Regions from separate parts of the Homo sapiens genome. Here region 2 is linked to region 1. The links are contacts of gene promoters, found by promoter capture Hi-C in human tissues and cell types (Jung and others, 2019). All regions are on one chromosome and are shown on one strand. Each heading gives the region's core, a stretch centred on a gene start or on the middle of the fragment in contact. The rest is flanking DNA. Distances are from core to core; before and after follow the strand shown.

Region 1 (3,698 bases), core at 528-3,027:
TCTCACTTTGTCACACAGGCTGAAATGCAATGGCACGACCATAGCAAACTGTAACCTCAAACTCCTGGGCTGAAGCAATCCTCCTGCCTCAGCCTCCCGAGCAGCTAGGACTACAGGCGTGCATCACCATACCTGGCTGGGGGCGGGGGAAGGGGGGGGGCGGTGTCTCGCTATGTTGCCCAGGTTGGTCTCAAACTCTTGCCTCAAGCAATCCTCCCACCTTGGCCTCCCAAAGTGCTGGGATTACAGGTGTGAGCCGCGGCGCTCAGCCACGGGCGTTACCTTTCAAAGCATCCAGATTTTATGGCGTTAATCTCCCTGTTTAAAATTTTCTGTGATTTGGACACAAAGATGGGAACAACAGACATGGGGTATTCCAAAAGGCAGAAGGTGTGGAGGGGGGTAAAGGCTGAAAAAGTTGCCGAAAGGATTAGAAGCATCACGCAATATACCAATGTAACAAACCTGCACACGCACCGAATCTAAAATTAAAACAAAACAAAAACACAACAACCAAACAAAAACCTTTCCGTGATCATCAGGAGGCTGTCATATTCTCACCCCCTACTTCACGCTGGGAATCGAGCTGCGGGCTTTACAACAGCGTCAGCTGCTCCCTTTGGCAACGACCAGAGAGGTCCTTTCTCCAGAGATTTTTGTCAGCTCTGGGCACTTTTGCTTTGTGGGCCTATCTTCCACTTTATAAAAAATTAAAAATGCTACTTTCCACTGCATTCAGTACTTTTTCTTCTCTTTTCTTTTTTCTTTTCTTTTCTTTCTTTCTTCTTTCTTTCTTTTTCTTTTTCTTTTTTTTTTTTTTTTTGACACAGTTTCACTCTGTTGCCTAGGCTGGAGTGCGGTGGTGTGATCTTGGCTCACTGCAACCTCCACCTCCTGGGTTCAAGCGGTTCTCGTGACTCAGCCTCTTGAGTAGCTGAGACTACAGGCGCCCGCCACCATGCCCAGCTAATTTTTGTGTTATTAGTAGAGAAGGGGTTTTACCATGTTGACCAGGCTGGTCTCGAACTCCTGACCTCAGGTGATCCGCCCGCCTCGGCCTCCCAAAGTGTTGGGATTACAGGCGTGAGCCACCGTGCCCTGCCCTTTTTATGTATGTATTTATTTATTTGAGATAGGGTCTCGCTCTGTCGCTCAGGCTGGAGTGCAATGGTGCGATCTTGGCTCACTGCAACCTCCGCCTCCCGGGTTCAAGCGATTCTCCTGCCTCAGTCACCCGAGTACCTGGGATTACAGGCGCATGCCACCACGCCCGGCTAATTTTTGTATTTTGAGCAGAGACGGGGTTTCACCATGTTGGCCAGACTGGCCTCGAACTCCTGACCTCAAGTGATCCGTCAGCCTCGGTCTCCCAAAGTGCTGGGATTACAGGCGTGAGCCCCCACGCCCGGTCGCGTTTAGTACTTTTTACCAAAACTAAAAGAAATTAAAACACTTTCGTGGGTCCTGGACACTTCCGGAAGGATTTGTTTCCAGCTGCCAGATGAGGAAACTGGGGCTCGCAGAGCCGGCGCCGCAGGGGAGGGGCTGTGCACGAATCCAGTGGGAAACCTCTCTCCGGAGCTAAGCCCCTGGTCCACCCGGGCATCGCTCCGGGATCGACTGGGGGCGTTCCTTCCGCCGGTCCCCTTTGTTCCCAGTGCCGAGCCCGCGGCCCTGCCCTTCCTCCAGGCCCCGCCCCTTCTTCCAGGCCCCGCCTCCCGCCCGGGCCGAGGCGCGCGGCCGCGCGTGCGCCCGCCCGCCCGTCCCCGCCTCGCGCATGCGCCGCGCTCGCTCGCGGGAGGGCATGGCGGGGGCCGTGCCGGGCGCCATCATGGACGAGGACTACTACGGGAGCGCGGCCGAGTGGGGCGACGAGGCTGACGGCGGCCAGGTGAGGCGGGGCACTGGGCGCACCCTAGAGAGAATCGTTCGTCTCCGCCGCCGGCGGGCCGGCCCCACTCCCGGAGAGGCCGCGCGGCGCGAGGCTGCGGGCGTGCGGGGGGTGTGCGCGCGCACGGCCCGCGCGGTCACCGTGTGGTTCAAGCACAGCCCGCCCCGCCCCCGCCCGCCCGGGGTCCCGCGGCGCGGCCGCCGGGGTCCCCGCCTCCTCGCCTGCAGGACCTTGGGGTGGGGGTGAGGCGCCGGAGGCTCTGGCGCGGGGCGGCCCGAGGCCCCCAGTACCCCCTCGCTCCGGCCAGGCCCGGCGCCGGCCCTGCGACCCCCGCGGCGGGCGGGACACCAACGCTAAGGTGGAGGGTTGGGTCCGGAGCTCACAGACTTTTAAACAAAAATAAAGTGGAAAAACTTCACAGCAGCATCATGAGGAAAAAGTAGAACTTAGGGCATTCCTACATGTGCTTTACTGTTTTATAAACTGTACTCTTCAGCACCTTGGGCTGATTTCATCTGTTTTTGGGCAAACTGATGGAAAGGATTTTCGGGCCTTGACCTTCCAGGGTTTGGGGTGGAAGCCCAGGAGGGATCACTGTTCCACCCTGAGGACAGGGACTGCAGAGCCAGGGCAGGTAGCTCTAGTCTGGACAGTGTGTCCCCACCTTACTCTAAAGACCCAACTGAGGCGCATGATTGAAATGTAGCTTCTCACGTCCCTCCCCTGGAGACGGCCCAACAGTTGGTCTGGACGGGAGCCTGGGAACTTGCATTTTTTTTTTTTTTTTTTTTTTTTTTTTTTTTTGTGGTGGAGTTTCGCTCTTGTTGCCCAGGCTGGAGTGTAATGGCGCCATCGCGGCTCACTGCAACGTCTGCCTCTCGGATTCAAGCGATTCTCCTGCCTCAGCCTCCCGAATAGCTGGGATTACAGGCACCCACCACCATGCCCAGCTAATTTTTAAAATTTTGAGTAGAGAGGGGGTTTCACCTTGTTGGCCAGGCTGGTCTCAAACTCTTGACCTCAGGTGATCCACCCACCTCTGCCTCCCAAAGTACTGGGATTACAGGCGTGAGCCACTGCTCGTGGCCCAGGAACTTGCATTTTTAACAACAATCAAGATTGGGGATGTCTGGTGCATTTTGAAGTGGTATTATAAGGGAATAAAGGATGAAGTGGGGCTTACGTTGATAAACATGGGTGGTGGTGTGATGGCGGCTTCGGAGCCATGGTCTAAAATGCCAAGGCGGGCGATGTGTTTCTGGAACTGAAAGAAGCCCTGTGATGTTAGCTGCCTGGTGGAAGCAGTGGCAGGAGGTCAGTAGGGAGCAGGTTCTGAAGATCCTTGGAGAGCTGCTGAATGGTATGGCTTGTTCAGGAGTTTGGGGCAGGGAGTGACACGAGTAGATTTGCATGTTGGATCATTTCACAGTGTTGGAGGCTTAGGGTGGAGTGGATAGAGTCAGACTTAGCTAACTGAGAGCTTGGGCCATGTGTGTCATGCGTTATCCCCTTCCACACACAGGATTTTGAGTTGGGTGTTACCCTACTTATCTGGTAAGTGTAGAAAATGAGACGAAAAGACTTACTGACCTGCCCAAGGTCATGAAACTAATAAAGGAAGGAGAGGGGACCCAAACCCACATCCTTTGCCTCCGTTGCCACTTCGTCAAATTGCTGACTACCAAAGTGGTCCAGATGAGAAGGTGTGAATTAGCTTAGTGGTAGGTTGGTGTTTGGGGCATCTAGTATATCACCTTGAGCCTTTTTTTCTTTTTTTTTTTTTTTGAGACAGAGTCTCGCTTAGCTG
Region 2 (3,698 bases), core at 791-3,290, 280 kb before region 1:
TCAGGGAAGCTGTGGTCTGAGGGTGGCTGGTAGAACTGCCAGAGAGTAGGGCATTTTCCATGGCTCCAGATCACCTTCTGAAAATGCGACTATAGCCCCTGCCTATTCCCGGGGTCCACCTGGTCTGCAGACCCCATAATACCAGGAAGAGCTGGGTGTTCTGGCACCAGTGAAACAATACCTGGTTTTTTATTTTAAACCAGCCCATCTTCCCCGCTGCAGTTGGAACCGTTCTACGTGGATTTGGGATCAACCAGCAGGCCTTTCCTGAGCTGTTACTGTGTGGAGTGGGCGCTGAGGCTCCAGCCATTGATGCAAAGACCCCAATCCTGACCTGAAGGCGCTCACAATCTCTCCCCAACGGCCTGGTGTGAAACGCAGACGCAACGCAGCAGGCATTCTCCCCAGTGGCTGCCTGTAGAGCAAATGGTGCAGAAATGGTCACTCCTCAAAAAGCAAGCCGGCTGGAGCCAGCCCAGCTCCCAGTTTTGCAAGAAAAAAAAAATCACAGCTCCATTTTCAAAGATTTCAAGGGCAGCTCAAGACCAGCCTGGACTAGCAGGCCTCAAATGCATTACTGGAGACCCCTTTACGCTCTTAACAAGTACCGACCCCAAAGAGGCTTTTTGTATAACAATGTCTATTGATATTTACTCTACTGGAAATTAAAAGTGAGAAATTTATAACATGTATAATTCATTAAAAATAACATATAAATCCATTGCATGTTATCATAAATAATTTTATGAAGATAAGCATCTTCCAAAATGAAAAAATAATTTACTGAGAGAGTAGCATTGTTGTACATTTTCACAAATCCTGTCAGTGTCTGGCTTAATAGAAGACAGCTAGGGACCTTGCGTCTGCTTCCGATGTAGTCTATGGAAATGTGTTGTTTCAGTTGAACTGTATCAAGAAAATCTGGCCTCACGCATTTTATAGTTGAAACAGGGAAAAGGATTTTAGTACCTTTTTCAGCTAACTAACTATGAACATTCTTTGCTACTACACCAAAACTCAACAAGTGGTAGCTTCTTAAAGGCTGGTTATAACATGGAATCTGAAGCCTCATGAATAGACTTTTGGGCTCTGTGGCAGTTAAATCCGCTGTTCTCTCTCACTTTGAACATGTGGTTTTTCATGGAAAAATGAATGTTCACTTGAAAAATGTTGGTTCACAGAGTTCTGCAGAAATTCAAATTTTTGACACATTACATTATATAGTATCAAAAAATCACTTAATATCACCATCCATCTCATCAGAAAACTCATTATGAGGAAGTTGTCATGGTGATAGGAGAAAGTTTTTCAAAATTCTGATTTTTGCTTAAAAGCTCAAATGTATACCATTGGCAATAAATAATGTCAGCTGTTTCTGGAAGTAAGAGGCTCAGTTTGTTCCTTTTCTGGGAAATATCTGCCAGATACCTAAATCCAATTAAATGCCATTTGTCTGTCAGTTTTTCTTTCAAGTAAAGATGGTGTCGTGGCCAGAGTGGCTCATGGAGCTCAGAACTCCCCCAGCAATCACAGCTGAGCTTCTGCTCTGACCGACCACTGCCCGTCAGCAACAGCAGGAGTACATTATGAGTCACACGGAATATGGAAAATGTATTGTACCCAAGGGTTGAGAGTTTTAAAAATTAATTTTACTGCTTCAGCAAGGAAATTCTAACGTGAAATTGGCATTGGTTCATTTTCCCAGAGGGCACGGAAACGAATACAGTGGCTCCCGGACCTCTTTGGGACTGTGGCCTGATACTCCAGCACAGGGGGTGTAAGTGTCAGCCCCGTGAAAAAGGCAGAGACCGTCTTAAATCACTGCGAAAATGGTTTCTTCTATAAAAACAGAAACAACATATGGGGGCTGGTGAAACTTTGCACAATCAATCAGTTGAGCTGTATTTGCAAGCCCAGTCCTGGCTCCACCTGCAATTGGGAAGGAGCTGGCAGCTGTGACGGGGGAGACATGGTGTACAGTGAGCAGCCGTTTCCAGGCATTGCTGTGTGACCCATTTTGCACATGGTTTGATTCCAGATCGGAGGCCCTGTTTTTCCATTTAAACAATCCTGTGCTTTCTCAAACAGATTAGCTCAGAAGAGATGGCTTATTTTCAGTAGTACAAGATGGGTCATTTTCACTCAATTATAAAAGCAGCTCAATTTACATCTAAAAATACTTTGCACTAAAATTCAAAGCTTGTGTAATAAGATAAGGGTTCAAAAATGATTCAGTAAATTTCATACCCAAACCTTTACCTCTGAGGACCTGCTGTTAATTTAAAATATGAACTTGTGAATTTGATTTGGGAACCTGTAAAATGTAAAAATGTGTAACACTGTCAACCAGCGTATAGGAAACAGTGTGGACACTGCAGGAGAAGGGTGGCCCCTCTTTAGACCCAGGTTAACCAGGAGGTGTGAACTATTAACCAGGAGGTGTGAACTAGCAGGAGGGCAGAGGTGGCCCCTTCTTCTGGCGATAGACCTGGCAGTGACATGAAGGAGCGACAGGTGTCCTCACTGCTGGTGGTGTCAGTGGGGGTGGATGTGACTGATTTTGGCGAAGAGTTCACATCAACCCTCACCATCATTCAAGGTTGTGATGAGGGGCAGAGAATGCTGAGCCTAAGTCTCGTTAGGTGGTAAAGCCCTCTAAGTGCCAGGGAGAGGAAGCTAGGCCCTGTTCTGGGGGGCGACAGGTGGCCAGGGCAGGTTTGCATTGCGGCAGCAGCCCCTCAGGCTTCCTCCCTGCCATAAGCACACTAGGAATCTGCAATGGGTGCAGGAAGCACGCAAGCCCACCCAGGTCCCTGAGGTGCTGGCCAGGGACCTCCAGCAAGCCCCAGAGGCTCCCTGGACCTCAGCTTCCTTCTCACGCTGTGCGGAGGAGTGGAGAGAGTGGCCCTGCAGACAGACCCCCAGGCGGCGTGGCAGCCCGGGACTGAGGTCAGGGTGCCCGGCGTCAAAGCACGGGGTCCCTGTTTCAATGTCAGAGCCCGGCCACAGCGAATTCTGCAGCTCCGGGCATCTCCTCGGGTTCCCCCTCCGTGCAGTTACTGTTTGATAACCCCAAAGTTCTGTCAAAACAAAAGGGAGCCTCACCATCTATGGCCATGACTCCCTGTTGCTTCTGGAGAACACCCCACTTGGCCAATATGAGGTTCATGAGTTCTGTGGGTGCCCAGGAGGCCTGGTGTGGGGGCTGCCCAGGCCTGAGAGCTGGGGAAGGTGGGGCTAGCGTGGGGCCGGGTGGGGGTGGGGGGCTTCCGCTGCCAGGCCTGGACCTCACAGCTCACCTTTGTCCTGGTCCCTTTGTACCACCCGCAGACTACCATGCCGGGGATGAAGCGAGACTGCGGGGGTGCTGCGGCCGTCCTGGGGGCCTTCAGAGCCGCAATCAAGCAGGTGAGTGGGCCCTGCCCGCCCTCTGCAGGGGCATCCTGGGTGTGCCTCGTGGGTGCTCCCCTCTCCCCTGTCCGTCCCGCCACAGGCCCCACCAGGGTCCTACCCGAGTCTCCCCAGCGGATGCTTGTCCCCCCTCTGCCCCCAGGCTCTTCTGGGGCCCCCAGAGCTTCCCGCCTTCATCAGAGCTGCTCTGGGAGGCCCCGAGGGCAAGGTGCAGCCATGTTCTCTGCTCAGGGCCTGCCTTGGCTCCAGAGCCCCATGAGCGGTTGGCTCAATGAGGAAGCCTGGCC

What was found. Contacts are between HindIII fragments. The study calls those that stand out against the background at their distance.
Region 2: a contact is called between a fragment that was not itself captured here and the fragment with the promoter of NELFCD in region 1, in 1 of the 25 tissues and cell types used here (spleen).

What each region holds. Positions count from the first base shown.
Region 1 is chr20:58,979,479-58,983,176 of GRCh38, forward strand. NELFCD (negative elongation factor complex member C/D) reads left to right here and starts at 1,778. Exons shown (of 15, transcript NM_198976.4): 1 at 1,778-1,891. The coding sequence starts at 1,832. RefSeq lists a silencer at 1,634-2,113 and an enhancer at 2,036-2,536. The HindIII fragment of the contact is 13,643 bases long and covers 1-3,698 here.
Region 2 is chr20:58,703,793-58,707,490 of GRCh38, forward strand. NPEPL1 (aminopeptidase like 1) reads left to right here. Exons shown (of 12, transcript NM_024663.4): 7 at 3,331-3,408. STX16-NPEPL1 (STX16-NPEPL1 readthrough (NMD candidate)) reads left to right here. Exons shown (of 23, transcript NR_037945.1): 17 at 1,706-1,777; 18 at 3,331-3,408. Among named protein-coding and RNA genes, the nearest start is that of NPEPL1, 13 kb to the left of the region's middle. The HindIII fragment of the contact is 8,020 bases long and covers 1-3,698 here.